Linked DNA regions of Homo sapiens: all the other regions are linked to region 3. The links are contacts of gene promoters, found by promoter capture Hi-C in human tissues and cell types (Jung and others, 2019). All regions are on one chromosome and are shown on one strand. Each heading gives the region's core, a stretch centred on a gene start or on the middle of the fragment in contact. The rest is flanking DNA. Distances are from core to core; before and after follow the strand shown.

The links. The method cuts DNA at HindIII sites, captures the fragments that hold promoters and counts their contacts. A contact is called where the count stands out against the background at its distance.
Region 1: a fragment that was not itself captured here is called in contact with the fragment with the promoter of SRGAP1 in region 3 in 12 of the 25 tissues and cell types used here (H1 embryonic stem cells, aorta, dorsolateral prefrontal cortex and 9 more).
Region 2: a fragment that was not itself captured here is called in contact with the fragment with the promoter of SRGAP1 in region 3 in 6 of the 25 tissues and cell types used here (H1 embryonic stem cells, aorta, heart left ventricle and 3 more).
Region 4: a contact is called between a fragment that was not itself captured here and the fragment with the promoter of SRGAP1 in region 3, in 2 of the 25 tissues and cell types used here (adrenal gland and dorsolateral prefrontal cortex).
Region 5: a contact is called between a fragment that was not itself captured here and the fragment with the promoter of SRGAP1 in region 3, in 1 of the 25 tissues and cell types used here (aorta).
Region 6: a fragment that was not itself captured here is called in contact with the fragment with the promoter of SRGAP1 in region 3 in 1 of the 25 tissues and cell types used here (aorta).
Region 7: a fragment that was not itself captured here is called in contact with the fragment with the promoter of SRGAP1 in region 3 in 1 of the 25 tissues and cell types used here (lymphoblastoid cells).

The regions. Positions count from the first base shown.
Region 1 is chr12:64,243,995-64,247,848 of GRCh38, reverse strand. No RefSeq gene overlaps it. Among named protein-coding and RNA genes, the nearest start is that of KICS2, 24 kb to the right of the region's middle. The HindIII fragment of the contact is 5,361 bases long and covers 1-3,854 here.
Region 2 is chr12:64,192,426-64,196,673 of GRCh38, reverse strand. KICS2 (KICSTOR subunit 2) reads left to right here. Exons shown (of 3, transcript NM_152440.5): 3 at 2,016-4,248. The coding sequence ends at 2,832. Among named protein-coding and RNA genes, the nearest start is that of KICS2, 28 kb to the left of the region's middle. RefSeq lists enhancers at 250-845, 2,125-2,544. The HindIII fragment of the contact is 4,221 bases long and covers 271-4,248 here.
Region 3 is chr12:63,842,053-63,846,184 of GRCh38, reverse strand. SRGAP1 (SLIT-ROBO Rho GTPase activating protein 1) reads right to left here and starts at 1,485. Exons shown (of 22, transcript NM_020762.4): 1 at 1,302-1,485. The coding sequence starts at 1,368. RefSeq lists silencers at 1,643-1,902, 2,013-2,072, 2,133-2,552 and enhancers at 1,479-1,978, 1,979-2,480. The HindIII fragment of the contact is 18,473 bases long and covers 1-4,132 here.
Region 4 is chr12:64,213,957-64,218,151 of GRCh38, reverse strand. It overlaps KICS2 (KICSTOR subunit 2), which reads left to right. Exons shown (of 3, transcript NM_152440.5): 2 at 2,189-2,474. Among named protein-coding and RNA genes, the nearest start is that of KICS2, 6.2 kb to the left of the region's middle. RefSeq lists a silencer at 2,752-2,949. The HindIII fragment of the contact is 3,866 bases long and covers 1-3,603 here.
Region 5 is chr12:64,311,915-64,316,208 of GRCh38, reverse strand. C12orf56 (chromosome 12 open reading frame 56) reads left to right here. Exons shown (of 13, transcript NM_001170633.2): 5 at 3,457-3,530. Among named protein-coding and RNA genes, the nearest start is that of C12orf56, 77 kb to the left of the region's middle. The HindIII fragment of the contact is 8,294 bases long and covers 1-4,294 here.
Region 6 is chr12:64,296,645-64,300,806 of GRCh38, reverse strand. All of the region lies in intron 6 of C12orf56 (chromosome 12 open reading frame 56), which reads left to right. Among named protein-coding and RNA genes, the nearest start is that of KICS2, 76 kb to the right of the region's middle. The HindIII fragment of the contact is 3,151 bases long and covers 1,233-4,162 here.
Region 7 is chr12:64,156,210-64,160,530 of GRCh38, reverse strand. It overlaps SRGAP1 (SLIT-ROBO Rho GTPase activating protein 1), which reads right to left. Exons shown (of 22, transcript NM_020762.4): 22 at 1-4,321. Among named protein-coding and RNA genes, the nearest start is that of KICS2, 64 kb to the left of the region's middle. The HindIII fragment of the contact is 6,714 bases long and covers 1-4,321 here.

The DNA of each region.
Region 1 (3,854 bases), core at 4-2,503, 400 kb before region 3:
AATGGAACTTAATTAAACCAGAAAGCTTCTGCACAGCGAAAGAAGCAGCAGAGTAAACAGAAAACCCACAGAGAGGGGAAAAATCTTTGCAAACTATCCAACCAAAGACTGATATCCAGAATATACAAGGAACTCAAACCAGTCAGCAAGAAAAAAACCAATCCCATGAAAATGGGCTAAGGGCATGAATAGACAATTCTCAAAAGAAGATATTCAAATGGCCAACAATCATATGAAAAAATGCTCAGCGTCACTAATTATCAGGGAAATGCAAATCAAAGCCACATGTGATACCACCTTACTCCTGCAAGAATGGCCATAATTTAAAAATAAAAAAATAATAGATGTTGGTGTGGATGTGGTGAAAGGGAAACACTTTTACACTGTTGATGGGAATGTAAACGAGTACAACTACTGTGAAAAACAGTGGAGATTCCCTAAAGAACTAAAAGTAGAACTACCATTTGATCCAGCAGTCCCACTACTGGGTATCTAGCCAGAGGAAAAGAAGTCATTATATGAAAGACACTTGCACACACATGTTTATAGCAGCACAATTCATAACTGCAAAAATATGGGACCAGACCAAATGTCCATCAATCAATGAGTGGATAAAATGTGATATATATATATATATAAAATGGAATACTACTCAGCCATAAAAATAAATGAAAGAATGGCATTTGCAACCTGGATGGAGTTGGAGGCCATTATTCTAAGTGAAGTAACTCAGGAATGGAAAACCAAATATCATATGTTCTTGCTTATAAGTGGGAGCTAAACTATGGGGATGCAAAGGCATAAGAATGATACAATGGGCTGGGTGCAGTGGTTCAAGACTGTAATCCCTGTACTTTGTGAGGCTGAGGCAGGTGAATCACCTGAGGTCAGGAGTTCAAGACCAGCCTGGCCAACATGGCAAAACCCCGTCTCTACTAAAAATACAAAAATTAGCCGGGCATAGTGGCGGGTGCCTATAATCCCAGCTACTCAGGAGGCTGAGGCAGAAGAATCGCTTGAACCCGGGAGGCAGAGGTTGCAGTGAGCCGAGATCGCACCACTGCACTCCAGACTGGGCAACAAGAGTGAAATTCTGTCTCAATAATAATAATAATAATAATAATACAATGAACTATGGAGACTCTGGGAGAAGCATGGGAGGTGGGGTGAGGAATGAAAGACTGCATATTGGGTACGATGTACACTGCTTGAGTGATGAGTGCACTAAAATCTCTGAAATCACCACTGAAGAACTTATCCCTGTATAACCAAATACGACCTGTTCCCCAAAAACCTACTGAAATAAAAAAACCACAATACAAAACAAAACAAAAAAGAATGAAGCATTCATGTGCTAGAACATGGATGAGTCTTGAAAACATTATGCTAAGTGAAAGAAGCCAGTCACAAAAAACCACATAGTGTATGACTCCATTTATAAGAAATGCCAGAATAGGCAAATCTATAAGGACAGAAAGTAGATTAGCAGTTACCTAGGGCTGGATGGTTGTGGGTTTTTTTGGGGAGGGAGTTGATTAAAACGTTATAAAATTGTAGTGATGGTTGCACAACTCAGTGAATATACTAAAAACCACTGAACTGCACACTTTAAAAGGGTGAATTGTATAGTATGTGAATTATATCTCAAATCAAGCTGCTGAAAAATAAACAACAGCGGGCTGTGAGCCAAAATTGTCCTGCAGGTGGTAGGTAGGTTGGCAACTTCTGTTGTGGATATATTCACGCAGGATGACAGATGAACTGATTCCTTTCAGAGGCCTGTTAGTGGATTCAGCTATTTGAGCTTGGAAGACTCACTTAAGGAGAGCTGGAAGTTGACTGTAATCAGAAAGTCCTTTGTTCTCAGGTCTTGCTGGTGAAAGGATCTATCTTATAGATGTTTGACATAAGCAATAATGAACTCCTCACCACCTGCTGGTTTGTAATTACAGCCACAAATTCAGCCCAGGAACTCAGGTACATTCAGACTCATTGTGGTTTCTAGTACTGGGTTCTTGCATAGCTACTTGGTTGCAAGGACCTTCACTTGGTCTCAGCCACACTTCCCAGACAAGCAATCATTTTATCCATCTCTCTTCTTCTAGACCATTTGGTTAGTGTCTTAGTCCACTCAAGCTGCTATCACAAAATGCCACAGACTGGGTGGCTTATCCAAAACAAATATTTCTCACAGTTTTGAGGAGCTGCAAGGGAAGTTCAAGATCGAGGCACTGGCAGATTTGGTGTCTGGTGAGGGCCTGCTTCCTGGTTCATAGATGGCTGTCCTCTCACTGTGTCTTCATATAGTGGAAGTGGCCAGGGAGCTCTCTGGAGTCTCATATAAGGGCACTAATCCCACTTTTGAGGGCTGTGCCCACATGAATCACCTCTTGAAGGCCACACCTCCAAATACAAGCACATTGGGGGTCAGGTTTCAACATATGATTTTTGGGGAGACGTAAACATTCAGTCTATAGTGGCTAGTCAGCTTCAATTCCTAACCGTCTCAGATTTGAAAAACAAAGCTTCATCTCACTGTCCTTTTGGAGAGCTAATATGAGGGGCTAAGGGTAGAGTTTAATTTAAATTTCCTTCTTACAATCAGAGTCCTCGCCAAGGCAACTGCTTAGTTTTCGTACTGCACTTGGGATCTTACACATTCATTCCACAAATACATATTTTATGGCTACTATGCATTGGGCACTATTCCAGGTGCTAGAGATATAGTAGTAAACAAGAAATAAAAATCCCTGCCTTTGTGGAGTTTATATTTTATTTTGTTTTTGAGATAGAGTCTTGCTCTGTTGCCCAGGCTGGAGTGTAGTGCAGTAGTGCAATCTCAGCTTACTGCAACCTCTGACTCCTGGGTTCAATCGATTCTCCTGCCTCAGCCTCCCAAATAACTGGAATTACAGGCATGCACCACCACACCTGGCTAATTTTTGTATTTTTAGTAGGGACGAGGTTTTCCCATGTTGGCCAGGCTGGTCTCGACCTCCTGATCTCAGGTGATCTGCCCTCCTCAGCCTCCCAAAGTGCTGGGATTACAGGTGTGAGCCACTGAGCCCAGCTGGAGTTTATATTTTAATAAGATGGAGTTAACCCTTCTTTCATCTGCTTCTTTCCATAATGAAATGCTATACTTTATTATCATGAGTTAGTCTTGAATCAGAGTCCTGTGCTCCATGAAAGGTCATTTCACCATTTCCTCTAGGCAGAATAGAGTCAGACTCATCCTGGACTGAACTGTTAAGTCCTGTGAGTTCTTTCTACAGCATAGTAACTAACCGGCACATTGTGCACATGTACCCTAAAACTTAAAGTATAAAAAAAAAAGATGACACACACACAAAAAAATAAATAAATTCTTGAAGAGCTATATTGAAAAAAAGAATCCCATCCACTTCTCTTCTCTTTTTCCTTCCTTCTTTTTTTTTTTTTTTTTTTTTTTTTTTTTTAAGAAATGAGGCTCTCACCATGTTGCCCAGGCTGGACTTGAACTTCTGGGCTCATGATCCTCCTGCCTCAGCCTCCTGAGTAGCTGGGATTACAGCTGTGTTCCACAACACCTGGCTCAGCAATAGCTTTTGTACACATCTCCCTGAATTTTCAATTTCCCCATTGTTATTAAAATAATCAAATCTGATCATATCCTTTCCTTATTTACACCTTTCAATAGCTTTTCTATTTTTCTTAGGATTAAGTCCAAAATATTTACCTGGCCTGTGGTGGCACTGCATTTACTAGTCCCTATCTACCTCACCTGAAATCACTCTGCCCTTGGCTTGCAATGTTCCCACCACATTGGTCTTCTCTCTTTATCTTGAAATGCCAAGCCCCTTCACACCTCCATT
Region 2 (4,248 bases), core at 1,132-3,631, 350 kb before region 3:
TTTGAATGTCCTCCCGTAGCTCAGAGTAATTTGATCGTCTGAAGCCTTCTTCTCTCAGCTCGTCAAAGTCATTCTCCATCCAGCTTTGTTCCATTGCTGGTGAGGAACTGTGTTCCTTTGGAGGAGGAGAGACGCTCTGCGTTTTAGAGTTTCCAGTTTTTCTGTTCTGTTTTTTCCCCATCGTTGTGGTTTTATCTACTTTTGGTCTTTGATGATGGTGATGTACAGATGGGTTTTCGGTGTGGATGTCCTTTCTGTTTGTTAGTTTTCCTTCTAACAGACAGGACCCTCAGCTGCAGGTCTGTTGGAATACCCTGCCGTGTGAGGTGTCAGTCTGCCCCTGCTGGGGGGTGCCTCCCAGTTAGGCTGCTCGGGGGTCAGGGGTCAGGAACCCACTTGAGGAGGCAGTCTGCCGGTTCTCAGATCTCCAGCTGCGTGCTGGGAGAGCCACTGCTCTCTTCAAAGCTGTCAGACAGGGACATTTAAGTCTGCAGAGGTTACTGCTGTCTTTTTGTGTGTCTGTGCCCTGCCCCCAGAGGTGGAGCCTACAGAGGCAGGCAGGCCTCCTTGAGCTGTGGTGGGCTCCACCCAGTTGGAGCTGCCCGCTGCTTTGTTTACCTAATCAAGCCTGGGCAATGGCGGGCGCCCCTCCCCCAGCCTCGCTGCCGCCTTGCAGTTTGATCTCAGACTGCTGTGCTAGCAATCAGCGAGATTCCGTGGGCATAGGACCCTCCAAGCCAGGTGTGGGATATAATCTCGTGGTGCGCCGTTTTTTAAGTCAGTCAGAAAAGCGCAGTATTCGGGTGGGAGTGACCCGATTTTCCAGGTGCGTCCGTCACCCCTTTCTTTGACTCGGAAAGGGAACTCCCTGACCCCTTGCGCTTCCCAGGTGAGGCAATGCCTCGCCCTGCTTCGGCTCGCGCACGGTGCGTGCACCCACTGGCCTGCGCCCACTGTCTGGCACTCCCTAGTGAGATGAACCCGGTACCTCAGATGGAAATGCAGAAATCACCCGTCTTCTGCGTTGCTCATGCTGGGAGCTGTAGACCGGAGCTGTTCCTATTCGGCCATCTTGGCTCCTCCCTCCCCACACCATTTTGTTTTTAACTATAATTAATATGAAGGGAATTTGGGAACCAGGATTGAATAAGGGCTGTCTGATAAATGCTCTATTTCTTTAATAAACATTTATTTTATCTACTGTGTTTTCCATATAAGCTTATAGTAGGTACTGTCATCTGCAAGATAGGCTTAATACCTCATAGCATTACTGTGAACATTAAATGAGTTTATATGTGTCATCTACACATTCAACAGATGTTTTAGTGACTTTTTTTGTTTTACCTCTGCCTCTTTAGGACCACACTCTGAAAAGAGCATGCCTTGTTTCAATGATTGTTTTAGTCATACAATTGCCAGAATAAATAAAATACACTCAGAAAGAATTATACCTAATTTAGGCCAGGCATGGTGGCCCACACCTGTAATCCCAGCGCTTTGGAAGGCCAAGGTGGGAAGATCACTTAGAGTTTGAAACCAGCCTGGGCAACATAGGGAGACCTTGTCTCTACAGAAAATGGAGTGTGTGCCTATGTTCTCAGCTGCTTGGGATGCTAAGGCAAGAGGCTCACTTGAGCCCAGGAACTGAGCTGCAGTGAGCCATGATTGTACAATTGCACTCCAGCCTGGGTGACAGAGCAAGAACCAGTCTAAAATAAATAAATAAAAAAAAAAAAATGAATTGTAGCTAATTTGGTATTCCTGTTGTTGAAAGGAAAAGTGGCCACTACTCTCAGGCTATTTCCACAGGAGAATATGATGTTGACATAATTTTGAAATGGTGAAATTATATCAGAATTTTAAAATAAATCAACATGTAGTTCCTCCATCTTTTCTTCCCCTGTCCTGAAGCATAATATTATGTTTGGCCATTTTGTTGCTTTGTGGTTAGAAAAATGTCAGTGTGGCAAGTGAAGTAACATTTCCACTTATCTCTATTTCCCTCTCCCCTTTAGATTTCACCACCCAATCCTCAGTCCTTTGGAAAGCAGTTTCCAGCTGGAAGTTGACGTCCTGTGTCATCTCCTGAAAGCCCAGGCCCAGGTCTCAGAGTGGAAGTTCCTCCCATCTCTGGTTAATTTACACAGTGCGCACACCAAACTGCAGACGTGGGGCCAGATCTTTGAGAAACAGCGGGAGACCAAGAAACATCTGTTTGGAGGGCAGTCTCAGAAGGCCGTGCAGCCTCCACACCTTTTCCTTTGGCTGATGAAACTCAAAAACATGCTTCTTGCCAAGTTTAGCTTTTACTTTCATGAGGCTCTGAGCCGACAAACGACTGCTTCAGAAATGAAAACGTTGACAGCAAAAGCTAACCCAGACTTTTTTGGAAAGATTTCCAGCTTCATCAGAAAATATGATGCTGCCAATGTGTCCTTAATTTTTGACAACAGAGGTTCTGAGAGTTTTCAGGGTCATGGTTATCACCACCCCCATTCCTACAGAGAGGCCCCCAAGGGTGTGGACCAGTATCCAGCTGTAGTGTCTCTGCCCAGCGACAGGCCAGTCATGCACTGGCCCAATGTCATCATGATCATGACGGACCGCACATCTGATCTGAACAGCTTGGAGAAAGTGGTCCACTTCTATGATGACAAAGTTCAGAGTACCTACTTCCTAACCCGCCCGGAACCTCACTTTACCATTGTCATCATTTTTGAGTCAAAGAAATCTGAGAGAGACTCCCACTTTATTTCCTTCCTCAATGAGGTCTCACTTGCCCTTAAGAACCCCAAAGTGTTTGCAAGTCTGAAACCTGGAGCCAAAGGTTAGCAGGTGATTTGCGTGGAGGGGTTTCAAGACTAGAAACTGTTCTTAATTGCCCTAATGATCTACGGTGGTCTGTGAATAGAGTTTACATCCATTCATGCCTCTTTCAGAACTAAATTAAAGACAAATCCTCCCTGTGTTGCACACTTTATAAGCAATTAAGGCCAATTGAATTAAGTTTCCAAAGAGTAATCTAGGAAGTGGTCATGGGCTACCATGTGTCTCCATGGTACAGCAAAGTAGTTTCAGTATTTTCCCCTATTTTGCTATATTTCTTGTAGATTGAATATTTATTGGGCTTTTTTTTTTCCCATATGTTTTTCTGTTGTTCTAAACATTGTGTTCTACTGCAATTCCAAACAGCCTCTCTGTTTCCCTCCTTCTTGGAAGAGTAATAGGGATGAGATATTAAATGGCCTTTTTAGAATTAAGAACTATATGTTTTCTGTCTCATAAATTAGCAAATGAATATGGAGTTAGTAGATTTATGATTCTGATCTACAAATTAACATTTTTGATGCCAAAATTAGGGTCTTGGTAAGAAATTTCTATCAGTTATTGAAACTGAAAGTGAGTCAGATTGGTAGCATGACGTAAGGTTTTAACAGTTCAGAAGATCCTCATGGCAGCTTTAATAGCCATGGGTTCTTTTGGGGTAATGTACACACCTAACTGCATTTGTTTTGACTTCTTTAATGTTTGAATGTTTCACTCTGTTGTAAAGTCAGCATAAGCCATCATGTGGGCTTTCTTCATTCTTCAGCATATTATCCGCTTCGCTTTCTGTTTATCACTTTTCTGCTGAAATGTACATGTTTGGCTCTACTCCTTGGTTATTTTTAGGCTTAAAAGCATGCAGTCGGTTTTTCAGCCACTTTTAGATACTCATGCAACATAGCCTACTTTTATAAAATCAAAATGAAGGTCTTCATACGCTGTACTTGCTAAAAATCAACTGTGCGCTTGAAAGACCTCTTCATAGTTGAGTAATCACCTCAGTACTTAAGCACTTCTGAACTTGGGTTTCATGCCTGCCCCCCACAAATTATGTTTAGAAGCAGCACTGCATCTTAGCACATGCTGCCTTATTTCTTTCCTTCGGCAGGTGTTCATGGGAAGTAGGTGGATCAGTGAAGGCATAATGGGCTGTGGAGACCTTCACTTCTAGATTATTGATTCAAAATAAAAAGAAGCCACAAAGAGTAATTGAGTTGTTACTGGTTTGATGGTTCCTTTGAAGCTTGTGTGAAATGTAATGGTCATATTCGTCTTTTTTCCCATGATTGTGTGGAGCCACTGTTTTACTGGGTGTCCACAGCAGGTATGCCAGCAACATCAGCAGAGACCAGAGAGCCCCTCAGAGTCCATGTAGGAAGCCTGCCCACCTAGGGTGGACTGCCTGGCAGAAGAAAGAAGAAC
Region 3 (4,132 bases), core at 236-2,735:
AATTCCAAGCAGACAAAAATCTGTGTCTCCTGAACACATTATAGGGGTCAGCCTATAGATAACTCCATTATAGGGGTCCTCCTAAAGATAACCTAAGTTATCTTGCATATTGTGTCTGCAGTGTCCACAATGAGTTGGTCTGTATTCACACTGGATGATACAGGATTTCTCCACCAGGTCCTCTCACAGGACTCCAGGCATTTTTACAACTTGACCACACAAAAGAACACTCAGGCTGCTCCTCCCTTGCTCAAGGGAAGTACAGTAATGCCTCTCTCCGTAGCCCTTTCATAAGACTGTGCATAGATAAACACAGGTGTATACATAGCAATCTTTATGAACTTTGCATTGAATGTGTCAAAGAACAGTGGCGGTCCCAACATTCCATCCATTGTCTCAATCAGGAAAGCTACTCCTGAGACCTCAGGAAAGAGGAGGAAAAAATTCAAGTAACACATATGTTTACGAAACACTTCAGTAACAAAACAAAATACTTGTATTGGAGAGAAAATATATATATTTTTAATCACAAGGCATAGAAAGTAAAAATAATCAGCCTTAATTAGGTTTCCTTCATTAGTTGACAATGTAAATGGACTGAAACTACTACTCAAATATTCAAACCTTCATTTTACATGCAAGTGGCTTCCAGAAAATGATAAAGCAATATTCCCATGTGAGTGTGAAAGATGGCAATGAATTCTGGCCCATTATAAAGGAAGAGTCAGATTCCACTAGTCACTGCTTCGTTTAACTGCCAGGCTTTTAGGGAGCTATTTAATAAAAGGGGTCTCGCCCTAATAAATTGTGAGCGGTGTAAATAGGTGAGTGGTGTAAATATCTGAAATAGCCTGCACTCAATGAGGCTGTAGACCGCTTGGGGTTCACAGACTTTACAAAAATCATTCCGTAAAAAAATTACGTAGTGACAATCCTACCATTTAAAAAGAATAATGATGGTGATAATAATAGCTGGACAGGATCCTCCACTGCTGCCTGCTTCCCACATAAGTTGCCCAGCTGAAGGTGGTTAAGTTAAAGCCAGTTCTCTCCCCATTAGAGATGCGGGCTGGCAGCTGGCGGGGGAAGTCACCCAGTTTCCAGCTCCCCGTGGGTTTGACGGGACTGGGATTGCAACTGGGAACTAACTGGCTTGTAGGAAGCCCAGGTGGCTCAGACAGGGCTCGAGCTGTCCCCTCACCACCTTCCTCCCACGCAGACACCAAGTTAGATACGCAACTCCACGAGCACAATGACAAGAAGGCACACAAAAGGAGCAAGGCAGCCGCTCCCATCCTTACCTTTGACTTGACTTTCATACTCGGCTATGATCTCTTTGTCCTTCTTGAATCGGCTCGGGGTGGACATTATCCAGCTGTTCCGGGTTTGCTTTCAATGGGCAAGTTTTGTTCAGTGGTCACAACCCGTTCTCCTTGGAGAGGCAGAGTTGTACTCCCACACGCAGGCAATCCAGAGGCAGCGCCGACCCGAGGGAAGGGAGGAGGGAGAGGAGAAGTAGGAGGAGGAGGGGAAAAAGAGCGAGTAGAGAGGACTAGATTAGCCCGGGCGCTGGCACCATACTCTCGAAATTGAGCTCCGTCGGTAATCCCAGGGGATCCCCGGGGGAGAGGCCGGACGCGCAGGCAAACTCCAGCCAGCGAGTGGCGGGGGACGTCTCCCTGCCCACCTCGCCGGGAGCCCGGCCACTTCCTCTACGGCCGCTGGGCGGGCGCGGGGCTCGCGCCGGCGCTCCGCACCATTGTTCGAGACCCGCACCGGGCGCCCGGGACAGGGCCAGCGGCGGAGGGCAGGCGCTGGGAACGCGCCCAGCTCGGGCGCCACAACCCTCCCTTCCTGCCTCCAGCTGTCGGCTCCGGCGCTCAAGGGTCCCGCCCGGGCTGGGGATGCTGCTGCCACGGCCGCCGCTCCTCTGCCCGCAGACACTGCCGCTACAGCTCGGCAGGCGAAAGGAATCGCAGTCCTGACGCGAGTCCCCGCTGCTGCTGAGAGGGTGAAGGCGGCGACGCTCAGACGCGCCCTGGGCACAGCCCCGGCGGAGTTTAGGTCTCCAGAGCCGGCGCCGCGAGGGGCCTCTGCCTCCCTGGCCGCGGTGCGCCGAGGCTGCCTTTCTCTGCGTCCCCCTTTCCGCTGCTGCCCCCAGGAGGCCGCTAGTGACAGGCACACTCGCACACGCACGCGGGAGCCGCGCCCCCGGCGGCAGCAAAGTTGAGGGTGCGCACACGGCTCGCGCCTCGCGGGCGCCCGGCTAGCGATCTGCGGGCGGTGGCTCCTCGGGGCTCCGCCAGGCGGGGCCAGGCTCGCGGGAGCGGACCGCGCTCCGGCCTGTGCCCTTCTCCGTCCAAGCTCCCGCCCCTGCTCCGCTAGGAAACGCCTGGCTGGTCCGGGAAGATGGATGCCTCTTGTGGCCAACCGCAGCCCGGCCCCGCGCGCCGAGCCCAGGAGGCCGTGGGCGGCGCCCCCGGCACCTCCCTCCGCCGAGGCCCCGCACCTCCCTCCGCCGAAGCCCCGCTCCACCGCTAGCCGAGGTCGCGGCTCCGGCGGCAGGAAAACCCCTTCCTGACCTGAGGGACCGCCTTCTGGCTCTGGCGGGGGCTCTGGTGGGGCTTTTGCCAGAATCTAATGGGGAAGTCCAGAGTTGGATGTATCCATGACACAAAGGGATGTTACTCCGAGACGCTGGACCCCAATAGAAAAACTGAACACTGAATTGTGAATGACCTGGCTGTTAATCCAAAGAGCGCGAAGCTCTTCAATCGAGGCGGAGAAAAACACCCACCTTGAACACCATATCCTCTATTCCTACAGTAGATAGGGAAGCTAGGATGGTAGGAAAGCGATGGTATGGAAACACGTCACACTTAACGGCGTTGTTAGCTTATTTATTTACTAAACTCCAGATTTTATTCCAATTTTACCAATTTTTTCGACTAGTGTCATTTTTTCTGTTCCAAGATCCAACACAGGACACTACATTGCACTTAGTACTTTTACGGTTGTTTTTGTTTTTGTTTTTTGATTTTGTTTTTTGGGGGTTTTTTTTGAGACGGGGTCTCACTCTCGCCCAGGCTGGAGTGCAGGGGCACGAGCTCCGCTCACTGCAACCTCCGCCTCCCGGGTTCAAGTGATTCTCCTGGCTCAGCCTCCAGAGTAGGTGTGACTACAGGCGCCCGCCACCGTGCCTGGGTAATTTTTGTATCTTTAGTAGAAACAGGGTTTTGCCATGTTGGTCAGGCTGGTCTTGAACTCCTGACCTCAAGTGATCCGCTCACCTCGGCCTCCCAAAGTGGTAGGATTACAGGTGTGAGCCACGGCGCCCGGCCACGTTTTTAATAGATACCTTTTACAAGATCTATCGTGTCTAGTCTCTTTTTATTTTATTTGTTTGTTTGTTTTCATTTTAGTACAGACGGGGGTCTCCCTATGTTGTCCAGGCTGGTCTCAAACTCTAGTCTCTTTTTGAACAATATAACGAAGAATTTACCTTGCCATCTTTGCATGGTTCAGGTGTTGTGTTAAGTACTTTAAATCCATCCTTGCCAGCCTTTTAAATTTTTTTTTATTATTTTTACTTTTTTGTAGAGATGAAGCCTTGCTCTATGGCCCAGGCTGGTCTCAAACTCCTGGCCTCAAAAGATTCTGGCTGGGCACGGTGGTTTACACCAGTAATCCCAGCACTTTGGGAGGCCGAGGTGGGCAGATCACAAGGTCAAGAGTCCGAGACCAGCCTGGCCAACATGGTGAAACCCCATCTCTACTAAAAATATAAAACTTAGCCGGGCATGGTGGCATGTGCCTATAATCCCAGCTACTCAGGAGGCGGAGGCAGGAGAATCGCTTGAACCCAGGAGGTGGAGGTTGCAGTGAGCCAAGATTGCACCACTGCACTCCAGCCTGGGCGACAGAGGGAGACTCCTTCTCAAAAAAAAAAAAAAAAAAAAAAAAGAAAATCCTCCGACCTCAGCCTCCCAAAGCACTGGGATTACAAGCATCAGCCACCACACCTGGTTCTGTTAGCCTTTTTGACTCACACCACTTGAGATATTTACTGACTCCTTTCAAATCAATTCTCAAATATTATGGGCCTGATTTATCAAAATGATGTGTCCAAAGG
Region 4 (4,195 bases), core at 421-2,920, 370 kb before region 3:
TAGGGAACAGTTCCGTATGAGATATTGGTGTCACATCTGGTCCACCTGTACCCATATGGACTTTAATTGTATTAGTTGGAGAAATGATGTGCCAGCTACTCAATCTGTTTGGAACAAGCTTGTCCAACCTGTGGCCTGCGGGCCACATGCAGTCCAGGATGGCTTTGAATGCGGCCCAACACAAATTCATAAACTAACTTTCTTTCTTTCTCTTTCTTTCTTCCTTCCTTCCTTCCTTTCTTCTTTTCTTTTCTTTCCTTTGGTTTCCTTTCCTTTCTTTTCTTTTCTTTCCTTTCCTTTTCTTCCTTCCTTCCTTCTTTCTTTTCTTTTCTTTTCTTCTTTTCTTTTCTTTTGATGGAGTCTTGCTCTGTTGCCCAGGCTGGAGTGCAGTGGCACGATTTCGGCTCGCTGCAGCCTCTGCCTCCCTGGTTCAAGCGATTCTCCTACCTCAGCCTCCCGAGTAGCTGGGATTATAGGCACCCACCACCATGCCTGGCTAATTGTTTTGTATTTTTAGTACAGACGGGGTTTCACCATGTTGGCCAGGCTGGTGTTGAACTCCTGACCTCGGGTGATCCTCCCGCCTCAGCCTCCCAAAGTGCTGGTATTACAGGCATGAGCCACCATGTCTGGCTAAACTTTCTTAAACAATATGAGATTTTTTGTGCGTTTTTTTTTTTTTCCTCATCAGCTATGGTTAGTGTTAGCATATTTTATATGTGCCCCAAGACAATTCTTCTTCTTCTAATGTGGCCCAGGGAAGCCAAAAGATTGAACACCCCTGGTTTAGACAGTATATTGGAAAAACACTTTTCAAAGTATCAGTAGTTTGTCTGGGGTGTCAGAAATAAGTAGGGTAACCAACTGTTCAAAATTTTCCCAGGCCTGAGGGATTTCTAGGATGTGGGACTTTGTTTTAAAACCTTATAAAGATTTCCTGAGAAGCTAGACTTCTAGTGCTAAAACCTGGAAAGTCCTGGGTAAACTGGGACAAGTTGGTTACCTAGTAGTAAGGGAAGGAAGATTCATTTCTTGAAACATAAACCGAGCAATGAATTAAAATCAATATTGTAAAATGGTTCATTTATTAAGAGGATATTTTACAAATGCCTTGATACATTTTTATTCCTAATTACAGGTATATGTTTAGAATAGTAAATTCATTGAAGAGAAAATTTAAACTCTTGTCCATCTCTTGAGTTTTTTTATATATTCCTAGAAATCACTGTTTTAAACCTGCCCTGTTTCTTTTTTTCTTTTCATTTTCCTAATATCTTGCCTCTGGCCCTTTGGTGGGTGCAGAATTGCTTAAGGGAACATCCATGAAGCTGGCTCCATAATTAGAAATATAATTGCTCATGTGTACATACAGAAGTGAGTAAATGATATCTATGCTATTTGATCCTTTTTGGCTATATAAAGGTGTTTTTGGTTTTATTTTTTGCTGATTTCCTTTGGAATCCCTTGGTTACAGCAGCAGTTATTTATAATTGGTTCCTGGTCTTAATAATTCACAATGTGGTGCTTATTATTTATAACATATAGTGTCAACCTTGTCAAGAGTGCTAAGATTTTCTTTATTCTCCTGGGATCCCAGTAGTCTGTTTTCTTGCATAGAGGGAATATATGTGTATGTATTCAATTTTCTGGTATGATCTAAAAGATTAGATTCAAAGGAAAATACAACTCTAAAGCAGAAACAAAAAATCATGACACAGCAGGAATAAAAATAGTGTTTCATAATTTGTGTGCTCTTTTGCTTTGAATACATCTATGTGAAAGGTAGGCTTTTTAGTTCCAGTTGGTGTTATTTGCTAGGTTAATTATGCTCTGAAGTAAATCTGAATCCTCATTGAATTGGGGTGGGTGAGAATTGGTACATGGGTAAGCAAATTGTACACAGGTCCATTGCTACAGTAATGAATTCTATCAGGTATTCATTTAGCTTATTCCTTAGGGAAATTATGAATCAAAGTATTTATGATTATCATAAAGTATTTATGATAATCATAAAGTATTTATGATTATCATAAAGTATTTATATCTCAATCATAGACAGAGAATATGGTAGATGAAAACTTACTGAGCTCAATGGGTTTGGATTCTTTGCTTTTGCATGTTGGTAGGTGTTTGGTACTTACGGTTTCTCCTTCTTACTTGTCATGTGCTTATGTTGTTTGCCTACCAGGGGGCCAGTCTTTCTTCAGCAGGAAGGATTCCATCCGCACCATCTATACTTCATTGCATAATGAGCTGAAGAAGGTGGTGACTGGCCGTGGTGCCCTGGGTGGGACTGCTCCTCACGTGGAAGAACTCCTTTCCCACCTGTCAGAGCAGCTCTGCTTCTTTGTTCAGGCTCGGATGGAGATAGCAGACTTCTATGAGAAGATGTACACCCTCAGCACACAGAAGTTCATCAATGCTGAAGAGCTCGTTGGCCTTTTGGATGCCATCATGAAAAAATACAGCTCCAGGTCAGTGTGGGGAGGAGGGAGGGAGAAAGCGTGGCTGTCCTATCAATCCCACACAAGCTCAGAGTTTTTCTCCACACTCTTATGAAAATCTGTGATGAAATAACTGTGAAATAAATAACTGGATTACATTTTATACATATTCATTAATCAACAGGTATACATTAGGCACCTTCATTGGTCTTATTAACACCACACGGCTGCTAAGCAATAGCAAAAGACCGAGAATGAAGTAATCGTAAAACTTGTATTATAACCGATTTTGCTGCTTAGGAAAGAGTTCACACAACAAGAGAATTGTATATAAAATAATAGGAATTTCTTTTTTCTGGAAACCAAATTGTAACATAGTAAAATAATATGAAAATACGTATTATTGTATTTTCTGTTGCCCAGGCTGGAGTGCAGTAGCATGATCTCAGCTCACTGCAACCTCCACCTCCTGGGTTCAAGCAATTCTCCTGCCTCAGCCTCCTGAGTAGCTGGGATTATAGGTACACGCCACACCCAGCTAATTTTTGTATTTTTTTTTTTTTTAGTAGAGACGGGGTCTCACCATATTGGCCGGGCTGGTCTTGAACTCCTGACCTCAAGTGATCCACCCGTCTTCACCTCCCAAAGTGCTGGGATTACAGGCCTGAGCCAATGCACCTGGCTGAAAATAATGTGAATTTTTAACAAATTATTATTCAAATAAATATTGTCCCTTTTAAAGTAATCAGTGATTTATCTGCTTGTTCCTTTGAACAAGCCATTCTTTAACATGTGTTGGAAACTCCTTTGTAATTGCTTTTAGAGTTTCTGCCATACAGTTTAGATTTCATTTTAAGTATTCTTAGTGGAGGAGGGCATCCACTAAGTGCCTGTAATCTCCTGGGTTCAAGTGATTTTCCTGCCTCAGCCTCCTGCGTAGCTGAGATTACAGGCACATGCCACTATGCCTGGCTAATTTTTTTTGTATTTTTAGTAGAGATGGGGTTTCATCATGTTGGTCAGGCTGGTCTCGAACTCCTGACCTTGTGATCTCCCTGTCTTGGCCTCCCAAAGTGCTGGGATTACAGGTATGAGCCACCATGCCCAGCCGAGTTGAGCTTTTAACGGCAGGTAGGATTTCGAAAGCAACTGTAGGAAAGAAGACGGCAGGTGTTTTGAGATGAGAGGATATTTCAGAATACAAAAAGGCTTCAGGGTTTTGGTACTTGCAATTCTTTCTCTCTTATAAGTTCTTACTGTAGTTATCTTCTCATCTTTAAGTCTTGGTTCAAACAGAGAAGGCTTCTCTCACTATCCTACCAAAACTATTCTGCTTTTAGTCACTATCTTATTCTCCTGATTTATTGCCATCTGAAGTTACTGTTGTTTGTTTAGGGTGTTTTTTCTTTCCTTTTCTCAAAAACTAGAATGTGAGCTCCATCACAGCTGCTGTGCTTTTAGCACCTGGAACAGAACCTAGCACATAGTAGATGCTGAATAGATGTTTGCTGAATAAATGAGTGAATAGTTGTGTTCCAGGTTGAAAATTTGTACTTAATTTGGTAAGCAGTGGGGAACCATGAAAAGTTTTGAACCAGGAGTATCATGTTCTCATCTTAGACTAATTACTGTGGCACTGTGTGTGCAATGGGATGGTGAAGGGAGAGGTTACAGGAGAAAAGGTTAGTTTAGCAGGCTATGATGGTAGCCTAATAGGCAGAAGGAGGGCCTCATGGTTGCAAGACAGTGGG
Region 5 (4,294 bases), core at 143-2,642, 470 kb before region 3:
ACTTAAGCCTGGGAGGCGGAGGTTGCAGTGAGCCAAGATTGTGCCACTTGCACTCCAGCCTGTGTAATACAGTGAGACTCTGTCTGAAAAAAAATATATAAAATAAAATTAAAAAAATAAATAAGTTTTAAAAATTACAATAATGTTCTATCTCTTCCTTGAAAGATGGAAAATGAATAACCAAATATTTCACACGTAAGTGAGAAATCGGGTTAGAATTCATTCTACTAACAATAAGCTACTAGTTCAATATAAACACTTTTTTTTTTTTTTTTTTGAGGTGGAGTTTCACTCTTGTTGCCCAGGCTGGCTTGCAATGGTGCGATCTTGGCTCACTGCAACCTCTGCCTCCCGGGTTCAATTGATTCTCCTGCCTCAGCCTCTCCAGTAGCTGGGATTACAAGCATGCGCCACCATCCTCTTCTAATTTTTGTATTTTAGTAGAGACAGGGTTTCGCCATGTTGGCCAGGCTGGTCTTGAACTCCTGACTTCAGGTGATCTGCCTGCCTCGGCCTCCCAAAGTGCTAGGATTACAGGGGTGAGCCACTGTGCCCGGCCACATTACACATTTTAACTTTCTCTGTACTTTTAGATAAAATTAACCCAAACCATCTAATTAGAAATTATCAGCACTCATCCTGATTTTAAGAGTTTCCAAAGAGTTGAGCCTCCTTCAGTAATCCATTTTATATGTAACTTTCACCAAAAATAGTTACACGTAGGTTGTTTAGCGCCTTAAATTCTGTAAAGATGAAATGTGGTAATTCCTTGCCTTGTATACATTGTGAAGATAGCTGCTACAAAGCTAAATATGGGATACCCCAAATTAAAATTCTGGATTTAAGGAAAATGTAAATATTTGGAGAGGGAAGAAAGGCTGCTTTAAAAAAAAAAAAAAAAACGTAGAACAATGACAAAAGTAGTAAGAAAAAGCACATATCTCCCTTGCCACCATCCACCCACTACACCACTCTGATATTAAGCACAAGACAGGTTGGGTGGCTGAGGCAGTTGGATCACCTGAGGTCAGGAGTTTGAGACCAGCCTGGACAACATGGTGAAACCCCGTCTCTACTAAAAATACAAAAATTGGCTGGCCGTGGTGGTGGGCGCCTGGAATCCCAGTTACTCAGGAAGCTGAGGCAGGAGAATTGCTTGAACCTGGGAGGCGGAGGTTGCAGTTAGCCAAGATCGTGCCACTGCACTCCAGCCTGGGCAACAAGAGCTAAACTCCGTCTCAAAAAAAAAAAAAAAAAAAAAAAAAAAAAAAGCTGGCCGGATGCGGTGGCTCACTCCTGTAATCCCAGCACTTTGGGAGGCCGAGGCGGGCGGATCAGGAGGTCAGGAGATCGAGATCTTCCTGGCTAACACGGTGAAACCCCGTCTCTACTAAAAAATAGAAAAAATTAGCCGGGCGTGGTGGCGGGCGCCTATAGTCCCAGCTACTCGGGAGACTGAGGCAGGAGAATCGCTTGAACCTGGGAGGCGGATGTTGCCGTGAGCCGAGATGGCGCTACTGCACTCCAGACTGACAGAGCGAGACTCCGTCTCAAAAAAAAAAAAAGCTTGTCTGCAGTGTCAAATCAACAACATTTGAGAAATTCCTTCTGACCTGTCTTAAGCCTCAACATAAATAAAAGATTATTTAGAGAAATTGCTGAACACTGTATGACTATTTTGAGGACCCAGAATAAATGAGAAATGGCAACACTAAAGGTTTAAGGAAAAATAACTCCATTAATAAGGAAATAGTTAACAAAAGTGTTGTGTATCTATGCTATGGAATACTAAATAATCATTAAAAGAATTGATATTGGTTGGATGCAGTGGCTTATGCCTGTAATCCTAGCACTTTGGGAGGTTCAGAGGGGAGGATCGCTTGAGGCCAGGAGTTCAAGACCAGCCTGGTCAACATAGCAAGACGCCATCTCTACTAAAAAATAAAAAGTAAAAAATTGGCCTGGCAAGGTAGAACATGTCTGTAGTCCTAGCTATTCAGGAGGCTGAGGCAGGAGGACTGCTTGAGCTCAGGAGTTTGAGGCTGCAGTGAGGTATGATCATGCCACTGTACTCCAACCTGGGTGACAGAGTGAGACCCTGTCTCATAAGAAAAAAAAAAAATTGAAGTAAATCGGTAAATCTTTTTTTTTTTTTTTTTTTTTTTGAGACAGAGTTTTGCTCTTGTTGCCCAGGCTGGAGTGCAATGGTGTGATCTTGGCTCACGGCAACCTCTGCCTCCCAGGTTCAAGCGATTCTCCTGCCTCAGCCTCCCGAGTAGCTGGGATTACAGGCATGTGCCACCATGCCTGGCTAATTTTTGTATTATTAGTAGAGATGGGGTTTCACCATGTTGACCAGGCTTGTCTCGAACTCCTGACCTCGTGATCCGCCCACCTTGGCCTCCCAAAATGCTGGAATTACAGGTGTGAGCCACTGGGCCGGGCTGTAAATCGGTAAATCTATATACACAGACATGAAAAACCATCCACCATATATTAAGTTAAATCAAGTTCCAGATTAATATATGCGATATAATTTAGGATTAAATATATATTATAAAAATATATAAATACTATAAATTTATGTGTTTATAATTCATATGTCTTTATATGCCTGGAAGGACCTAAACCAAACAGACGATAGATACTTTTAAAAATTTTAGACACAAGGTCTTGCTCTGTTGCCCAGGCTGGAGTGTAGTGGCACAATCATAGCTCACTGCAGCCTCCAACTCCTGGACTCTTTTGATCCACCTGCCTCAGCCTCCGAAGTAGCTGAGACTACAGGTACAAGCCATGGTACCTGGCTTCATGATCAGACACTTTGCATAGTGGGATGGAAGGGGTAGGGAAAAACAGAGAATTTTATATTTTACTTTATCTAAACTGTGTGATTTTGATAAATAATTTCTTTCTTTCTTTCTTTCTTTCTTTTTTTTTTTTTTTTGAGACAGAGTCTCGCTCTGTTGCAGAGGCTGGAATGCAGTGGTGTGATCTCTGCTCACTGCAAGCTCCGCCCCCCGGGTTCATGCCATTCTCCTGCCTCAGCCTCCCGAGTAGCTGGGACTACAGGCACCTGCCACCATGCCCGGCTAATTTTTTTTGTATTTTTAGTAGAGATGGGGTTTCACAGTGTTAGCCAGGATGGTCTCAATCTCCTGACCTTGTGATCTGCCTGCCTCGGCCTCCCAAAGTGCTGGGATTACAGGCATGAGCCACCGCACCCGGCCTAAATAATTTCATTTTATAATGAGCAAGTGTTATATTTAAAACTTTTTAAAAACTGGATAAGAAAAAAATTCCCTGTGGTATTATTAAACACTAGAATGAGTTTTATAAACAAATCGTGTACTATAGGAGGGCTTAAAGAATAGATACATAACATTGACTAAAGGTAGGGGGAATTGATCTTCAGTAAATAAAAATTCTAACAATTTCTACTTTTTCCTTTTTCAGAAAGCTACTCTTTTACAAGATCCCTTCTATGCTAGTGAGTTCAGTCCTGCTATTGGAAGTCAAAAGCCATATAGGTAAGAAGTGATGATGTATGATAGAGTTGCATGGGGAATTTTTCTCTCCTCTTTGCCTCTCCTTTTTTTTGAAACTGAGTCTCACTCTGTTTCCCAGGCTGGAGTGCAGTGGCACAGTCTTGGCTCACTGCAACCTCTACCTCCTGGGCTCAAGAGATTCTCCTGCCTCAGCCTCCTAAGTAGCTAGCACTCCAGGCGCCCGCCACCAAACCTGGCTAATTTTTGTATTTTTTAGTGGAGACAGGAGTTTCGCCATGTTGGCCAGGTCGGTTAGATTGGACTGACCTCAGGTGATCCTCCTGCCTTGGCCTCCCAAAGTGCTGGGATTGCATGTGCGAGCCACCGTGCCCGGCCCTCTTTGCCTCCCCTAACTCTGTGTTGTATGTGTGGCTATCACAGTTATACCTTTACCTCATCTGCCTGCCCTGACGGTTAAGTCTGCAAACACAGGTATCCACTGGACATCTTTTGTATGTCTCATAGGAACGTTAAAGTCAACATATTAAAAGAGAACTCAGCATCTTCCCTCTGCAACCTGACTTTCCTCTTGTGCTTCCTAACACAGGGAATGATGTCATTATCCCTAGATCACCTCAGCCAGAGTCCTAGAAATCACCCTTGCCTCCTCTCTCCCCTTCACCATTTCCAGCATCCAGCCAGTCATCACATGCCTTATTTATTGCGCCTTTACTATCTCTGGATAACATCCACTTCTTTCCATGGTCACTCGCTCATGCCCAGTTATCTCAGTTCTGAGCTCCTAC
Region 6 (4,162 bases), core at 1,559-4,058, 450 kb before region 3:
ATGCTCATGGAAAAGGCACAGTGCCCAAAGGTGAGAGTGATCTCTACATAAGAGTGAGCAAAATGAAATATCAGGATATTTTAGCATGTGGGTGAATTACAACTGGATGTCTGCACAAACATTTGGCACCAGGAAGATCTGCTTGTTTAGGGTGTGGGAACAGGGTTTTATGGAATGTGAGGACATAAAGATTGTCAAGAGTAAAGCCAGCAGTTAGGAGAGGACTGGGAAAGGACTTAGGACAGTGCTCAAAGGGGAAGTCCACCCAGATACACTGGACACAATCAGGGACTGGATTTAAAGTGCATGTCTAGGTAGGAGAACTGAAGTACCACTTAAGGGTTAGATTAAGAAGGATGTTGATGTGTATTCCTAATGGGATCAGCACCAGTGTTAGTCTGGAGGTCATTTAAGCATCTTCAGTTTAAAAACAGGCCTGATACCTGTGGCCTAGGCTGTGGAACAAAAAAAGAATGGAGAGAAAGAGAGTAAGGTTAGGATTCACAGACCTGACCCGCCACTTCATCTTCTCTCTCACCTCTGTCCTCTACAAGATCGAGCCATGTAGGATAACTTGGATACTTGTTCTCCTTAGCTCTCCTTTCTCCCTGCTGCTTGCTTTCTCTAGAATACTCTTCTTCTAATTTCTCTTGTTAAAAATCATACCCATTCATCAAGGCTCAGCTCAAATGCCATTTTCTGCCTTTCCTGTCATGCCTAATGGGGAACTTTAGTACCTTCCTCCTTTTGATCTTCTCTGTCAATTCCATGCCATAGAACTTTCTTTGAAGTTTTATAATCTGCATTGTTCAATACAGCAGACACTAGCCACATGTGGCTATTAAGCACTTGAATGTGACTAGTGACTAAAAAAGTAAAACGTTAATTTTATTAAATTTACATTAATTTAAATAGACACTTGTGGGCAGTAGCTACCGAGTTGAACAATGTAGTTCTATGACATCTTTCATAGCACTTCCTCTTTAACAATTAACAGACAGTTTTCATGCCTAATCTGTGTGAGGCTTGGTGATAGGTATTAGAAATATAGCATGATTATGATACAGTTTCTACCATCGAGAATTAGCACAGATATCCTCCCTTTTACTATAGTGATTGGCACATTTTTCTTATTTATCTTAATATGCTAAAAGCTTCTTTAGGACAAGTATATGTCTTACTTATCTTTGTATTCTCCCTCAGGCCAAAACACAATGCATGCATATTCCAGGTGCTGTAAGTTATTCATACTGAATTGCAAATCTGTTCTCTTGTGAAATATTAACCTAATCCAATGTCTAAAAATGAAGCTTTCATGATCTGTTTTATACTTGAAAACACTGCAGCCATTATTTAATATAATATTCTTACCTGGGCTAAAACAAATCTTCTAATTCAGTTATCAAAAATGAAAGGCCAAAGTGAATGGAGAAGGAAATAATTCAGATAGGAAAAGGGGAAGTCAAATTGTCTCTGTTCACAGATGACATGATTGTATATTTAGAAAACCTCACCGTCTCAGCCCAAATCTCCTTAAGCTTATCAAAGCAACTTCAGCAAAGTCTCAGGATACGAAATCAATGCACAAAAATCACAAGCATTCCTATACACCAATAACAGACAAACAGAGAGCCAAATCATGAGTGAACTCCCATTCACAATTGCTACTAAGAGAATAAAATACCTAGGAATACAACTTACAAGGAATGTGAAGGACCTCTTCAAGGAGAACTACAAACCACTGCTCAAGGAAATAAGGGAGGACACAAACAAATGGAAAAACATTTCATGCTCATGGATAGGAAGAATCAATATCGTGAAAATGGCCATAACTGCCCAAAGTAATTTATAGATTCAATGCTATCCCCATCAAGCTACCTATTGACTTTCTCCACAGAATTGGAAAGAACTGCTTTAAAGTTCATATGGAACCAAAAAAGAGCCCGCATAGCCAAGACAATCCTAAGCATAAAGAACAAAGCTGGAGGCATCACACTACCTGACTTCAAACTATACTACAAGGCTACAGTAACCAAAAGAGCATGGTACTGGTACCAAAACAGACATATAGACCAATGGAACAGAACAGAGCCCTCAGAAATAACACCACACATCTACAACCATCTGATCTTTGACAAACCTGACACAAACAAGCAATGGGGAAAGGATTCCCTATTTAATAAATGGTGCTGGGAAAACTGGCTAGCCATATGCAGAAAACTGAAACTGGACCCCTTCCTTACACCTTATACAAAAATTAACTCAAGGTGGATTAAAGACTTAAACATAAGACCTAAAACCATAAAAGTCCTAGAAGAAAACCTAGGCAATACCATTCAGGACACAGGCATGGGCAAAGACTTCATATCTAAAACATCAAAAGCAATGGCAACAAAAGCCAAAATTGACAAATGGGATCTAATTAAACTAAAGAGCTTCTGCACAGCAAAAGAAACTATCATCAGAGTGAACAGACAACCTACAGAACGAGAGAAAATTTTTGCAATCTATCCATCTGACAAAGGGCTAATATCCAGAATCTACAAAGGACGTAAACAAATTTACAAGCAAAAAACAACCCCATCAAAAAGTGGGCAAAGGATATGAACAGACACTTCTCAAAAGAAGACATTTATGCAGCCAACAAACATGAAAAAAAGCTCATCATCACTGGTCATTAGAGAAATGCAAATCAAAACCACAATGAGATACCATCTCATGCCAGTTAGAATGGTGATCATTAAAAAGTCAGGAAACAACAGATGCTGGAGAGGATGTGGAGAAATAGGAATGCTTTTACACTGTTGGTGGGAGTGTAAATTAGTTCAACCATTGTGGAAGGCAGTGTGGCGATTCCACAAGGACCTAGAACTAGAAATACCATTTAACTCAGCAATCCCATTAGTGGGTATATACCCAAAGGATTATAAATCACGTTGCTATAAAGACACATGCACATGTATGTTTATTGCAGCACTATTCACAATAGCAAAGACTTGGAACCAACCCAAATGTCCATCAGTGATAGACTGGATTAAGAAAATGTGGCACATATACACCATGGAATACTATGCAGCCATAAAAAGATGAGTTCATGTCCTTTGCAGGGACATGGATGAAGCTGGAAACCATCATTCTCAGCAAACTAACACAAGAACAGAAAACCAAACATGTTCTGCATGTTCTCATTCATAAGTGGGAGTTGAACAATGAGAACACATGGACACAGGGAGGGGAACATCACACATTGGGGCCTGTCGGCGGACGGGGGAATAGGGGAGGGATAGCATTAAAAGAAATACCTAATGTGGCTGACGGGTTGATGGGTGCAGCAAACCACCATGGCATGTGTATAACAAAACTGCACATTCTGCACATGTACCCCAGAAATTAAAGTATAATAAAAAAAAGAAAAAAAAGTAAATGGGTAGTCTCTCTATTTGTGGTCTCTCTACACTTCAGTGGAGTCCCCCTTGGCCCTATCCCCAACCATGCTATCAAACCCAGTAGCCTTATGTTCTTCTGTCTAATCCACAGCCAAAATCTATCCTCAGATTTATTTTCACAAAATTAGCATATATGACTAATAAAAGTCAACATCCTTTAAGATTTTTTTATTTAAATTGTTATCATAGCCTTAAGCTAAAGCAGTGGTTTTTCAACTTTATGCTATATTTCTTGGAAAACATACGTTCTGTGAAGCTCCCTTAGAAACCCATACTGGGGTGGAGAGATTAGGGCCATTGTCTTAGTCTGTTTTGTGTTGCTATAACAGAGTATCACAAACTTGGTAATTTATAAGAATATGAATGTACTTCTGACAGCTCTGGAGGCAGGGAAGTCCAGTATCAAGGTGCTGGCATCTTGTGAGGGTCTTCTTGTTGTGTCATCCCATGAGAAGGCAGAGGGCAAAAGAGCATGCAAAAAAAAAAAAAAGGGTGGAAGGGGGCCAAACTCATCTTTTTATCAGAAACCCACTCCCACAATAATGACATTAATCCATTTATGAGGTCAGGAGCCTCATGACCCAATCAACCTCTTAAAGGTCTCGCCTCTCAACACTGTTGCATTGGGGATTAGTTTCTAAAACATGAACTTTGGGGGACACATTCAGACTACAGCATTCTGCTCTTGGCCCCAAAAATTCATGTCTTTTTTACAT
Region 7 (4,321 bases), core at 1,414-3,913, 310 kb before region 3:
TGATTGAGAAATCTATGGTGATGGAAACTAAAGCCAAGTAAATCTAGGGCTGGGTCATTTCCACTTACACTGGGAATTACTAGGAGGACATATTTTTCCTCCTTTCCTTGACCACATTGATTTTAAGTTAACATCCTAAGTAAGATTTTATACTCAGCCAGACTATCACAATTACATGTGAGATAAAGACACTTTCTAGACATGGAATGTCTCAAAATACACTCTCAATCAGGAAGCTGATTAAGGATATACTGTGTTAAATCTAGGTCAGTCATGACTAGCTGAGATGGCTGTATGAGGTTCCAGGAAATAGTGGAACCAACTCAAGAGAAAAGTGGAGTGAGTCCCCAGAGATCTTAGGCTCTCAGCTATGCAGTAGACTTAGAGAACAACTTATCCATACTGAAACAGGTCAAATGCCTCTTTAAGTGATGGATCCAAGATTTATAAACTATAGCATGTTTCAATGCATTGAGTTTGAGAACACTTCTGTAAAAGATTTTTGAGAAGGAATTTTTACCTATTTATGTAAATAGAAAGCTAAGCAAATGAAACAAAGGTAATTATGAACTCCAGGGAAAAGAAAAAAGAAAGGAAAAGTAATTGTATGCATCAGGAAAGGCTACATTATGCTGTGGCATAACTATGCAACCTAATTCTCAATGTCAGTAGCTTGATATAACAGTAGTTTATTTCCTGCTGTTGTAGAGTCCACTCGAGTCCAAACAATTCTCCAGGATGACCATCCTCCATGCAGTGACTTAACAGTCTGTGCTTTTCTAGCATTACAGCTCTGCCATCTTAACGGGAGGCTTCTATGAGTGCCATGGCAGGGGAAGAGACTGCTTGGAAAGCTTGAATCCTCTCTCATACGTTATTGTTATTATTTTTTGAGACAGGATCTCACTCTGTCACCCAGGCTGAAGTGCAGAGGTATGATCTCAGCTCACTGCAGCGTCTACCTCCCAGGCTCAAGCGATCCTTTCACTTCAGCCTCCCAAGTAGCTGGGATCACAGTCACACACCACCACAACCAGCTACTGTTTGTTTGTTTGTTTGTTTGTTGAGATGGAGTTTCACTTTTGTTGCCCAGGTTGGAGTGCAATGGTGCAATCTTGGCTCACTGCAACCTCCGCTTCCTGGGTTAAAGCAAGTCTCCTGCCTCAGCCTCCTGAGTAGCTGGGATTACAGGCATGCGCCACCACGCCTGGCTAATTTTGTATTTTTAGTAGAGATGGGGTTTCACCATGTTGGTCAGGTTGGTCCTGAACTCCTGACCTCAAGTGATCCACCCACCTCGGCCTTCTAAAGTTCTGGGATTACAGGTGTGAACCACCGTGCCTGCCCTACAGCTAGTTTTTTAAAAAACTGTTTTGTAGGGATGGGGTCTTGCTATGTTGCCCAGGCTGGTCTTGAACTCCTAGGCTCAAGCGATCCTCCCACTTAGCCTCCCAAAGTGCTGGGATTACAGGTGCGAGCCAGTGTGCCTAGCACTCTTTTATATTTTAACCCACAAGTGACACAGATCATTTTTGCTCACAACCCACTGGCTAGATTTAGTACATAGATCCACTGAATGATGTGAATGGTGGGGCAGAGAGGGTTCTTATCATTTTTTCCTCAACCTGACCTCTGATTACTGTTTGACATGTTCCAAATGCTCCGTAAGTTGTCAAGGCACATGATATTCATGCATTTTCATTGGGATTTTTCATTTTTATTAGGTTGGTGCAAAAGTAATTGCTTTTTTTTTCTTCTTAAGATGGAGTCTCACCCTGTCACCCAGGCTGGAGTGCAGTGGTGCGATCTTGGCTCACTGCAACGTCCACCTCCCGGGTTCAAGTGATACTTCTGCCTCAGCCTCCCGAGTAGCTGGGACTACAGGTGCACGCCACCATGCCCGGCTAATTTTCGTATCATTAGTAGAGACGGGGTTTCACCATATTGGCCAGGCTGGTCTCAAACTCCTGACCTCATAATCCTAATTATTTACTAGACTTAAATGAAGTTACATTTTTATCAAAGCATAATCCAATCAATACTGATTTTAATTTAATTCTATGTCAACTAAGAGGGTAGACTTTAGCACCCGATGTGTTGGGTTTGAATCCCTGGTTTTTCTAGATGAATCTCCTTCAAAAGCAATTGGGTCTTAAACTTTTCATATACTTGAAATCACAATCCATGAAGTTGCTTTAGTATTTCATCCCTGACAAACCAGAAATGAGAAATTTTTAAGTTTTTGGAATAAAGGACAAATACAAAGCAGGAAATAGTTTTAATTTAGAAACATCTAATCCTAGATAATTTAGTAACATTGATTATAGCACAATTCTTGAGCACTAACTATGCACCAGGCAGTGTTTAATTGCTCTGGGCTCAAGCAATCCTCTTGCCTCAGCCTCCCAAATTGTGGGGATTATAGGCGTGAGCCACTGTGCCCGGCCCTGGGTTCTTTTTCTTGCATTATAGGAAGATGACATTTCCTGGCCTCCCTTGCCATGTGACTTGGACATGTACAGTAGTGATTCATGTCTCCTCCATACCAAGACAGAAAACCTCACATCATTGCAAGTGCTTTCTCTTCCTCTTCATGGTGGCCACGTACTAAGGTGGCAGCAACAAAAAAAATGGAAGGAGCCCAGAACCCTGAGTCACCTGCCCGATCCACACCAAGTTGTGATGTGAAGGAGAAATTCAGCTTGATTGTGTTACTGAGTTTGGGGGGTTGTTTGTTACAGCAGCTAGCATCAGTTATCTCTTGTGAAATCACACAGCTAACAATTGAGCCAGTATCTGACCTAGATCTATTGCCTACAGAGCCCCACATTTAACTACTATTATCTGGCCTCTTTATTGCCCCCACACACTTGAAATATAAATTTTTAAAGACATTTTATTCTTTTTTCTATCCAGAATTTATTGAATCCTGATCATTTTTTCCTTAATGTTGATTTTGTAGACTCATTTCCAGGAAGAACAATGTCAGGCAGAGAGAAGGAATTGAAAGAGTATTTTTAATAAATTTGTACATGTTAATATAATTTACTTATTTGCAATTCTCATAGCTATACGATATTCTATCCCATTTCCAGTGTGGCAGCGACAAAAAAATGGAAGGAGCCTAGAACCCTGAGTCACCTACCTGACCCACACCAGGCTATGATGTGAAGGAGAAATACAGCTTGATTGTGTTACTGAGTTTGGGGGGTTGTTTGTTACAGCAGCTAGCATCAATTACTCTCATACAGATGTGTAAACAGATACTTGCACTATAGTGTTTTAGGCCCTGCTTCAGCTCTTCCTACAGTGTCAGACATATGGTAACCCTCATGAGTTATTTGTTCAGTAAATGATGAATTTAGAGGTAGACACATCCCTTTGTTACAGTGGGGGTCTGAAGGAGTGTTGAGGGGTGGGAAAGCCACCTCACTCTATGGGAAGGCGTGTGTACTATCGCTGATCTTTCCATGTAACACCCTTTCTCCTGCCAAGAATGCCCCCTTTTTTTTTTAGAAGTGCAGCTACCATATCAAACCATCCGCTTTCTGGTCCCAAAGCATGAGCAGTGCAGGCCTAGCTGTTAAGGTCTCTCAGGTCAGATAATTTTATGCCTTATTCCCCCTATCACTTCTTCAGAGAAGGTAATCTTTCCTAGAGAAATGTGTTCTTTCGCCATTGACCCCTGGCAGTTGGTAACATTTTCACCAGCCTCCTCCTATTAAACTGCAGTGATGCAGCAGCAGCCCAAAGCCATAGAAAACATGGCAAATGTGATTTTCCATGTGTACCAACACTCATTGCTGAGCCCACTTTCCTTGAGGCCCTAACCGTGCACGTTCAGATAGATGGCTTATTATTCCCTGTTGTACTCGGTGTAATAAGGCTAGATTAATAGATTTAACTTCTATAAATATTCATTTATTTTATCATTTCCTTTTAGCTTTGCCTCTAACAAAACCCCTAATCTTGGGGTCAGGGCACCTAGAAACGTGCTCATACCCTTTCATCCTGTAGATGAGTACCCTTGGGTATCCATCACAAGGAATAGGATGATAGAAAATGAGTAACATATGCAGAGATTCAGAGTATTTGCTACTAAAAGAGCAAAAACACTGGAAATGGGATAGAATATCATATAGCTATGAAAATTGCAAATAAGTAAATCATATTAACATCTACAAATTTATTAAAAATATTCATTCAATTCCTTCTCTCCACCTGACATTGTTCTTCCTGCAAATGAGTCTACAAAATCAACATTAAGGAAAAAATAATCAGGATTCAATAAATTCTGATGAAGACAAAAAAGAATAAAATG